Regions from separate parts of the Homo sapiens genome. Here region 2 is linked to region 1. The links are contacts of gene promoters, found by promoter capture Hi-C in human tissues and cell types (Jung and others, 2019). All regions are on one chromosome and are shown on one strand. The core of a region is centred on a gene start or on the middle of the fragment in contact, and the rest is flanking DNA. Distances in the headings are between cores, read along the strand shown.

Evidence for each region. The method cuts DNA at HindIII sites, captures the fragments that hold promoters and counts their contacts. A contact is called where the count stands out against the background at its distance.
Region 2: the fragment with the promoter of PYGM here is called in contact with the fragment with the promoter of STIP1 in region 1 in 1 of the 25 tissues and cell types used here (mesendoderm cells).

What each region holds. Positions count from the first base shown.
Region 1 is chr11:64,183,885-64,188,895 of GRCh38, reverse strand. STIP1 (stress induced phosphoprotein 1) reads right to left here and starts at 2,725. Exons shown (of 14, transcript NM_006819.3): 1 at 2,626-2,725. The coding sequence starts at 2,634. It overlaps LOC124902686 (a long non-coding RNA gene), which reads left to right and starts at 3,215. Exons shown (of 2, transcript XR_007062712.1): 1 at 3,215-5,011. RefSeq lists silencers at 2,513-2,572, 3,273-3,412 and enhancers at 3,533-3,602, 4,226-4,731. The HindIII fragment of the contact is 11,787 bases long and covers 1-5,011 here.
Region 2 is chr11:64,758,659-64,763,669 of GRCh38, reverse strand. PYGM (glycogen phosphorylase, muscle associated) reads left to right here and starts at 3,696. Exons shown (of 20, transcript NM_005609.4): 1 at 3,696-4,014; 2 at 4,966-5,011. The coding sequence starts at 3,772. RefSeq lists enhancers at 403-452, 1-555, 2,879-3,581, 3,582-4,286, 4,287-4,990 and 3 more. The HindIII fragment of the contact is 11,504 bases long and covers 1-5,011 here.

The sequences.
Region 1 (5,011 bases), core at 1,476-3,975:
GTTGAAAATGAAAACAAAAGGTAGAGAAATCGTGTTTGTTTTCAGGAATGGCTTCCAGATGGTGGGCTCAAACACACCTGGGATTAAATGCCAGGTCATCTGTACAGCTGCCATGCCAGTTTGCTGTCCTAAGTCAAATATTCATTCACCATCTACCTACCTGTACATACACTTCTATCACCAGTAGTGGTAATTTAAAAACAAACATTTTAAGACCAGGCAAGGTGACTCACGCCTGTAATCCTAGTGCTAATGAAGTGGGAGGCCAAGGCTAGAGGATTGCTTGAGCCTAGAAATTCGAGACCAGCCTGGGAAACAGCAAGAGCCCCGTCTCTACAAAAAATGTTAAAATTAGCCAGTTGTGGTGGTGTGCCCAGCTACTCAGGAGAGTGAGGCAGGAGGATCGCTTGAGGCCAGGAACTTGAGGCTGCAGTGAGCTATGATCCCACCAGGGCACTTCAGCCTGGGCCACAGAACCAGACCCTGTCTCTAAAAAAAATACAAAATAAATTTGGTAACAGAAATCGTTTCTTTTCTTTTTTTTTTTTTTTTGAGATGGAGTCTCACTCTGTCACCCAGGCTAGAGTGCAGTGGCGTGATCACAGCTCACTGCAACCTACGCCTCCCGGGTTGAAGCAATTCTCCTATCTCAGCCTCTCCAATAGCTGGGATTACAGGCCTGCGCCATGACCCGCTAATTTTTGTACTTTTAGTAGAGAGGGGGTTTCACCATGTTGGCCAGGCTGGTGTAGAACTCCTGACCTCAGGTGATTCGCCCACCTTGGCCTCCCAAAGTGCTAGGATTATAAGCGTGAGCCACTGCGCCCAGCCGAGATCCTTTTTTTTTTTTTTTTTTTTGAGACGGAGTCTCGCTCTGTGGCCCAGGCTGGAGGGAGACGGAGTCTCGCTCTATGGCCCAGGCTGGAGTGCAGTGGCGCAATCTCGGCTCACTGCAAGCTGCCCCCAGGGTTCACGTCATTCTCCTGCCTCAGCCTCCCGAGTAGCTGGGACTACAGGCTCCCGCCACCACGCCCGGCTAATTTTTCTTCTGTATTTTTAGTAGAGACGGGGTTTCACTGTGCTAGCCAGGATGGTCTCGATCTCCTGACCTCGTGATCCGCCTGCCTCGGCCTCCCAAAGTGCTGGGATTACAGGCTGAGCCACGGTGCCCGGCCCCAGATCCTTTCTTAAAGGTAAAAGAGCAACGTCTTATTCCAGAAATCTTTTCCTCACCTATACTACAGCCCATTTAACCCTAGATACAACTGAAATATTATATGGGCACAAAAAAGTTTACTAACTTCATTTCCACTCTTTTTAATACAGCAAGGAAGCTCGAGCTTTGCCTAAAGCAGCAACTGCTACAAGAGACCAAAGGCTCAGCTCTGTAGCTCACACCAAAAAAAGGATGGTAGTCACTAGTCCATCGAGATGTCTTATTTAAGGGGAGAGTGTGGGCGATCTTAGTTTTATGGCCCTGAAGTAAGAACCAGATACCAGGTATAGTTTCAGAATTGTCACCCCCAAGTGTTATGGGCCCGGAGCGAAGACAGTAGTACTCCCGAGCGGGAGGATGATTTCTCGGAGGTTGGTAGAGGTTTCTTGGAGGTTGTTTTGTCCTTTTTCTTCCGATGAATCATTACAGCTCAATGACAGCTTCAAATCGAACAAAACCTCTAGGCCTTTCATAACCGCAAGCTACTGAGGACATAACCAAGTCACTGAAAGGAAGCAGCAACCGCTTCAAACTCGGCCCCTCAAATGCTCAGTAGAGGCCCATAACTTCCAGCGGTTGATCTCTGTAAATTGTCTACAACCACCCCCGGGTCGTCAGAAACCCATCTTTCAGACCCACCTTTCGGAAGTGTTGGTCCTCGGTCACTCGACAATCACACACACAAGCATACAAAAAGAGGGGGAGGGGCCGCAATACATTTGTAAAACACTGTCAGAGATGGAATTCGTCCCAAGGACTTTTGCGGCACCCTTCCCTTTCCCGCATCAGGTAGAGTCGGTCTGTCGCTCCTCAGACCCCCGCTCAACGCTCTCCCACCCTGACCTTCTCAGATGTAGAAGAGTAACATTTGCCCCAACTGCATCCCAGGCTGCTAAGATCCTCGGCTACTCCCAGTGTATCCCCGTCCCCGCTCCCTGGATCCGTCCAAGTTCCTCGTGGCTAAGTCCCGAGCGGTTTCTCCGTCGGCCGTCTGAGATCTCCCGGAGGGCTACCTCGCGGGTGCGGACCCCGGCCCCCGGCCCACCTCCACCCCGCCCCCTGCGGCCCGCACCCTCCCCAACATGGCCCGCAGCCGCCCCCTCGGGACGCCTTCAGGGCCCGGTCGCGACCCCTCTTCCCGCCGCCGGCCGGACTCACCCAAGCTGTGGCCTCCGCCGGGCCCTCCTCGCCCAACCAGGGGGCGATGGGCGCTCCCCGCGGCCGGCCTCGCTAAAGATCCCGCTCCCGCCCGCCGCCCGCGGCCCTCACCTCCCCGCCGCCGCCCCGTCCGGCCCCAGCGCCGAGCTCCGGTCTCCTGGATCCGGCGCCCGCCCCGCCCCCCTACCGCGGCCTGGCCACCGCCGGTCCCCGAGCAGGCTCGGGGCCTCAGCCCGCCCCTCCCCCTTCACCTGCTCCATAGCGCAGCGCGGTCCGGAACCCCGTTGAATCGAATCCGTCCGCTCCGCGTTCCCAACCGCACGCGCCGCCTTCTGGAACCTACTAGAAGCTACCGGGACCCCGGCTCCCGCCCCTTCCTCGCCTGCTCACTGGTCGAGTTCTTCTAGGGGGAATGTCTGTGCTGCTCTACTATTGGCTTGAGGTCCAGCCCATCATCTCCACTTCCTTCTCATTGGACAGCGGGGAGTAATTCCCTCAACCCTGCCTCCCCCGCACCTCAGGATTGGGCGCTCCTCTATAAACCCACCCATCTCAGGCTCCACGAATGGAGGGAGGAGCGAACTTCTGCGACACGGATTGGTCTTTTGCACTGCCAATCGTAGCCGCGCTGGCCGCGCCCATTGGTTCTGATCGTTCTGGAAATTTCCACCTCTCCCATTGGGCTGCCGGACTCCATGTCGGAACCGCCTTCAGAATGAGAGCGATTCCAATTGGGCGGAGGGTTGCCAACTCTTTGCGCTGATTGGTTTAAATCGCTGCCCTTCAAAAGGCCGGGTTTCGCCCCGCCCCTGATATATGGGAGTACCGGCTGCAGTCGGGGTCTGTAGCTGTGTCGCCGGCGGCTGCGGGGCCTCTGGGTTGCTTTCCCTCTCGCTCCCGAGTGCCGCGAGTTCCAGGCGGTCCCCGGGATCGCCAGCGGCACAGGGCCCCAGCCCTTCGCCCGCGCATCGGGATGGGGGTCCTAGCCGGTGGGAGCTGCCTGTCCCTCGAGCGCCAGCTACCCGCGTTGTCCAGCGCTCCGGCCTCGGCCCGGCCCTCCTGCCTCCTGGCTGTTAGGTTCTGAATGTTCCGGAAATGCCACGTGACCGCGAGGGCGCTTGGGCTTGGGCTGGACAGGCCGGGGATCTCACCGCGGCGGGCCCGGCTGTCCCGCTTGGGCGTCCTCAGTGGAACCGCACACCCTTTCTCAGCGCGCCGGTCGTTTGGTCCTGTAGGGCCGAGGGGAATTCGTGCGGTGTTGAGCACGCGGGAAGCACTTAACGAAAGGGAGCTGCCCCTCAGCCCTCGTGAGTCCGATGTAAAGGAGTGAAGGAGACGAAGAACTGAATCAGTAGTTGACCGCCTGTGAGCTGGCGAGCTGTGCCCTGGTAGGGCCTTAAATCCCAGCCCCAGAAGTCGGAGGCAGGGCAGGCACCCCAAAGCGTGGAAGAGATGCACCTGCGGAGTGAAAATGCTGCTATTGCTTCTAGGGTCAGCCTTGGTTCCTGGAACAAAGGAGCCGCATGACTCGGGTCTGGCGATGATGTTGGGCTCTGCAGTGTCCTCATCCTTCCCCCTCTCTGGGTAATGATATCTTCCCAGGGTTTAAAGTGTGTCCTCTCTGCCAGTAGCTTGTCTCCACAGCCTCATCTTTAATTCCACCTGCCCCACCCATTTTGGACACTGCAGCCAAGTTGCAGCAGATCCGCAAACCTGGTAATCCCTCACTTGAAAGTGCTGGAGGCTTTAGGATGGGGTTCAGGGCCTGTGCAATCTAACCGCCTGCTTTTTTTTTTTTTTTTTTTTTTTTTTTTTTGAGACGGAGTCGAATCTCACTGTCTCCCAGGCTGGAGTGCAGTGGCGCCATCACAGCTCATTGCAGCCTCAACCTCCTGAGCTCAAGCCATCCTCCCACCTCAGCCTCCCAAGTACCTGGGGTTACAGGCAAGCACCATTACGCCTAGCTAATTTTTCTGGGTTTTTTTTTTTTGTTTTTTTTTTTGTATAGATGGATTTCGCCATGTTGTCCAGGCTGGTCTTAAACTCTCGCTCTGTCTCCCAGGCTAGAGTGCAGTGGGGCAATCTCGGCTCCCTGCAACCTCTGCCTCCTGGGTTCAAGCAATTATCCTGCCTCAGCCTACCAGTTAGCTGGGATTACATGTGTGCGCCACCGCGCCCGGCTAATTTTTTTATTTTTAGTAGAGGCGGGGTTTCACCATGTTGACCAGGCTGGTCTCAAGACTACTGACCTCAAGTGATCCCCCCCCCCCCCCGCCTCGGCCTCCCAAAGTGCTGGGATTACAGACGTGAGCCACCGTGCCCAGCGGTTTTGCATTTTCAATTGTGGGGCACGGTGAGAAAAGACTTGAAGAAAGCAAGGGAGTGAGATCCATGGAAATGTAGGGGGGAACCTTGCAGGCCTATGGAACAGCCAGTGCAAAGGGCCTGGGGTGGGAGCTGCCTCAGGGTAGCCAGGATGGCAGGAGGCACAGCTGCCGAGAGGAAGCAGGGGCCAGGTCCTGCAAGGTTAGAGGCCATTGCTACTCCTGAACACATTGGCAGGTTTTGAGCAGAGAAGTGACATGATTTTAGTTTTCTCAGGATCCCTCTGGCTGCTGTGTGGAGGAAGAGGGGAGG
Region 2 (5,011 bases), core at 2,447-4,946, 570 kb before region 1:
AGGCTCAGTGCGTTTCCCCAGCCAAGCCCTAAACTTCGGCTCACCAAAAGGAGGACATCTTTTTTGCCTTTGTCCTTAAGTGGCAGAATGGGGGCAGGGCCTGGGGCCTGGCTACCCTCTTTGACCTTGGCTTCACCTCATTGCTTCTCCCACAAGCTTGGTTTCCCTGGTGGGCTCATTGGGTGGTTAATTAGCTCTTTGAAGCTCTGGAAGCGGCAAAGTGGCGCTATGTGGGTTTTAGAAATAAAATCAATAAATGACTTAACCACAGCTTAGCTATCTCCTCCGCTTCTCTCCCCCAGGCCAGCTCCATTCCTGTGCTCCCTCCCTTTCTGCTCCCTGCCGTCAGCTTTTGTTAAGGTTTTGGAGAGGAAGTGGCTGACTAAGGCATCAGTCTCCAAGGTGCTAGAGGCCCTGAAATGGAAGAGACAGCAGGAAGGCTTGGCCCTCTGAACCGTGGCAAGCACTTGCCTCTGGCAGAATCAGAGAGAGAAAGGCCTGCCCACCTGTCTTAAGACACCTGGGGTGGGAAAGCAAGCCATTTACTCCATCACATTGTGACAGGGCTGTGCTTGCCCCACCCCCTCTCCTCACGTTCATTTCTGCTGCTGTAGCAGCACTGTCCCCGTCCCTCAAGGCCTGGCAAGGCCTGGCAAGAGGAATGCCAGTGGGGAAAGGTCAGCCTCAGGGCTCTGTTACTGAGGTTCAGCCAAGGGCTCTGGAGAAACCCAGGATTGGTCCAAGGAAGGAGGCCGGGTTTCTAGTTAGAAACTTAGACATAAATAACCTCGAGTGAGTTCAGGTTGTAAAAGTGCTTCAGGGTTCATTAAACCTGCATACACAACACCAAGGAGGGGCGGAGGAAGCAGGGAAACAGATGAGATCGTGCTGCCCAGGTGTGATCATGCTGGGCTGGGGCATGCAGTGTCACCCCGGGACAAAGCCTGGAAACAGTGGGGAGTGATGGCATGACAAAGACGGAAAGAAGCCACAGAAAAGGTAGTTGGAGAAAGTTAAAAATTTCCCAGTAAAAATGTTCCTGAGAGCAAGCGCCCTGGGTGCAAGAGGGGAGAGTAGCTGGGAAAGGATGGAATGAACTTGGCCTTCCCTGCCTGTAAGATGTGGATGGTCTATGGGGATCGGGTCCTCAGTGGCAGGAACATAAAGTCTTGCAGGAAATAGGGGTCAATGCAAAGAAGGTGTGTGTGGCCAAAGCAGGCTGCCACGATTGGGCTGTGAGGTGACGGCATGGTTAACAAGCTACTGCCTGCCTGGCAGTGGACTGCCAAGAAGTCTCAGCTCTACTCACAGCAACCCTCCAAGGGACAAGTGCGGGCTGTGAAGAACCTTGGATGCCAGGCCAAGCTGGAGTCCAAGCTGTGCTTAGTGGAGGATGGGGATGAGGCCCAGGAGCTGAGGCTGGGGTGCAAACTGTGAAAGGGGAAGAGACCAGACAGCTGCCAGCATTGTTTTTTTGTTTGTTTTTGAGACAGAGTCTCGCTGTGTCGCCCAGGCTGGTGTGCAGTGGCGTGATCTCGGCTCACTGCAACCTCTGCCTCCCGGGCTCAAGTGATTCTCCTGCCTCAGCCTCCCGAGTAGCTAGGATTACAGGCATGTGCCACCATGCTTGGCTAATATTTGTATTTTTAGTAGAGACGGGGTTTCGCCATGTTGATCAGGCTGGTCTCGAACTCCTGACCTCAGGTGATCCACCCACCTCGGCCTCAAAGTGCTAGGATTACAGGCGTGAGCCACCGCGCCCGGCCAGCATTGTTTTTTAATGGTTTATGAAACACTTCTTAAGAGAAATTGGAAATTAACAGAAAAATGTAAGGAAAAGTTGTTTGCATCCCCGTGTCTGTGGAGGTGTATTTTGGTGTTTTTTTCCCGATCTTTTTTCTCTACTTGGAAATGTGGCAGGCACCACAGAAGACAGTGTGCCCGTGCCTTTTGGGGGCAGGGGTAGAGCAGGGCTTGGGAGCCTGGAGACCTCTGTAGGACTTGAAGTTTGGCCCACATACTAAGCCGGTGATTCCAGGGCTGGGTCTGCCATGGCTCAGAAAGTGATCGGAGGCCGGGCGCTGTGGCTCATGCCTGTAATCCCAGCATTTTGGGAGGCCAAGGTGGGCGGATCACCTCAGGTCAGGAGTTCCAGACCAGCCTGGTCCAACATGGTGAAACCCCGTCTCTACTAAAAATACAAAACTTAGCTGGGCATGGTGGTGGGTGCCTGTAATCCCAGCTACTCAGGAGGCTGAGGCAGAATTGCTTGAGCCCAGGAGGCGGAGGTTGCAGTGAGCTGAGATCATGCCATTGCACTCTAGCCTGGGCGACAAGAATGAAACTCTACCTCAAAAAAAAAAAAAAAAAAGTTCTCAGAAACAGCTTGGCTTTCTCCGAACCAGGCTCTCAATAGTATCCTGCAGCTGTCCAGGCTTTTGACCTGCTTCCTTGGCCTTCAGAACAGAACACCCAGCTCTTCCCCTCCACCGGCCCACCACCCGGGAGGCCCAAACAGCCTTTGAACTAGCACAAGGTCCTGGTTCCTTTCTCTTAAAGAACAGCAGGATCCGAAGCCTGCCCTCACAAGATGAGGAGGCAGCAGCTGAGAGGCAGGGATTTTTTTTTTTCTCATTGGAGAGTCTAAATTTGGTGAAGGAATCCAAAGCTCAGAAAGGTAAAGCAACCAGCTTGAGGTCACACAGCAAGTCAGTGCTGGGGCCAGAACACAGCAGTGAATGGGAGGATAGCCAAAGCCTCCAGGGAAGGGCTCAAAGCTGTGGGGCTATGCACACAAATGGGGTGAGGTCCTCGAGGTACAGATTAGGCACCCATTTTATAGGCCAGGTCACAGAGCTGGTTTACAAAATCCTGCTCAGAGTGTGGCCCCAGGTGGCAGGAAGAAGTGAAAGAAGGCCTCTAATCACTTCCTAAGCAGTGGAATCACAGGGAGAACTTACTGTCATTAAACCAGTATGATGATGGAGTGGGGAATGCCTCAGTTTCTCCCACCGCCGAGGGCCTATAGGACTACAGTTCCCAGGGCCCCGTGCTGCAGGCTAGCGGCCTCCCGCCAATGCTGGCCAGTAACCTGAGCATCCCTCTCCAAAAGGTCACTTCAGGGCTCCTTGAGGGACAGCAACAGGGGGAGCCTAGAGCTGCTCAGCTTCGGTGGGGGTGGAGTGAGGGCTGTGGCCCTGCCTCACACAACCTCCCTCACACCACCCCTGCAATGCAGGGTCGTGGGCCCCTTTCTCAAAGACATCCAGTGGCCTCTGCTAGTTGCACCTCTTCCGTCAGGGGACACTGACTTGGCTCCTGCACCACAGCCTGCAGGGGGTCCTGGTTCCTTTTGCCACAACACATGGCCTCCCATCCTGGTTCAGCCACTGACAGACAGCTCCCCAATCCAGCACTCTGCCTGCTCCTTCTTGTATCCAACCCTCCAAAAGGCAGGGACAAGGGACAGAAGACCATGTGCAAGGCCTGGAGGAAGTGGGTCAGCACAGGCCTGTGAACAAGCCAGGCCAGTCTTGGCGGCCCAAGTGGAGCTCACCTCTCCCTCCCCTCTCCTCTCCTCCCCTTGCCCTCAAAATAGCTCCCTGAGCTGCCAGGCCAAGACCCTCCCATTGCAGGGGAGGCGGGGCGTGCTGCCCAGAGCCAGGCTTTAAATCCCCTTGAGGCTGGGGAGCTCCACTCCTTGGCTGGAGGCAGTGCTGAGGCCGCCGTCCCCTCTACCATCAGTCCAGTCCGGCCCGCCCTCCTGCAGCCATGTCCCGGCCCCTGTCAGACCAAGAGAAAAGAAAGCAAATCAGTGTGCGTGGCCTGGCCGGCGTGGAGAACGTGACTGAGCTGAAAAAGAACTTCAACCGGCACCTGCATTTCACACTCGTAAAGGACCGCAATGTGGCCACCCCACGAGACTACTACTTTGCTCTGGCCCATACCGTGCGCGACCACCTCGTGGGGCGCTGGATCCGCACGCAGCAGCACTACTATGAGAAGGACCCCAAGGTGCTGCTGGGGAGCCTGGGGTGGGGGTATGGGCTGAAGGCGCTGCCAGGGAGCTGGCGATCTTGACTTAAGTGGCTGCCCCTCGTCACTCTAGGTTCTTGGGGGTGGAGAATCCAGGGGTGCCAGGCACAAGGGGTGCTGGGACAATCTGAGGGAGAAACCTGGGGCAGGAGTGGGGGTCAGGGAGCTCAGAGCAGGTGGGCTGGCTGCAAAGGGTCAGTGCCCACTCGGAGAAGGTTGGAGTGGGTGCTGGTGGGCAGGACGGCGCCTGTGGCCTGGCTGGGCCCAGGTGGAAGGACACATCAGTTGCTGCATGTATGCGCGGTGTGCCTGTGCAGCAGGCGGGGCTGGGGCAGCTGGGGCGGCAGAGATCAAGTGTCCGGTGGGGTCACTGGTAAATGTCAGCAACCTGACACGCCTCGGTGGGGAGTGGGGGAGGGGCGGGCAGACGGCCCAGGAGGGGACCCAGGAAACTGGGAGACCAGGCACTGGCAGCATCCTAGTTTCTGGTGCCTCTGGGTCTCCTTGGGATTGAGGCTTGAGGGCCAAGGGGAACTGGACAGTGCAAGGATGGGAGGTGACAGTCTCTAGCCCAGTCTCTAGCCACTGTGTGACCTTGAGCAAATGACTTTTTTCTCTGGGGGTGTGTGCAGGGGGAAGGGGTGCCCATTCTCCCGAGTACCTCAGTCCCTGAAGTGGGTATGGCCAGCGCTATTTCCCAGATGAGGAGACTGAGGCCAAAGAGAGTGATTTGTCCAAAGTCAGAGGAATGCTGGGACCAGAACCTTAACCGCTGGGCCCCAAAGCCTGAGACAGGGAGAAACAAATTGGGGACAGGGATGGGACTGCTGAGCAGGGCAGGCGGGCCAGAGGTCCAGGCGTGGCTGGGCCTGGCTGAGTGTTGGTGTGTGGCCCTGACCCCATTCCCTGCCCATCCGTCTCTCTGGGCAGAGGATCTACTACCTGTCTTTAGAGTTCTATATGGGACGGACGCTAC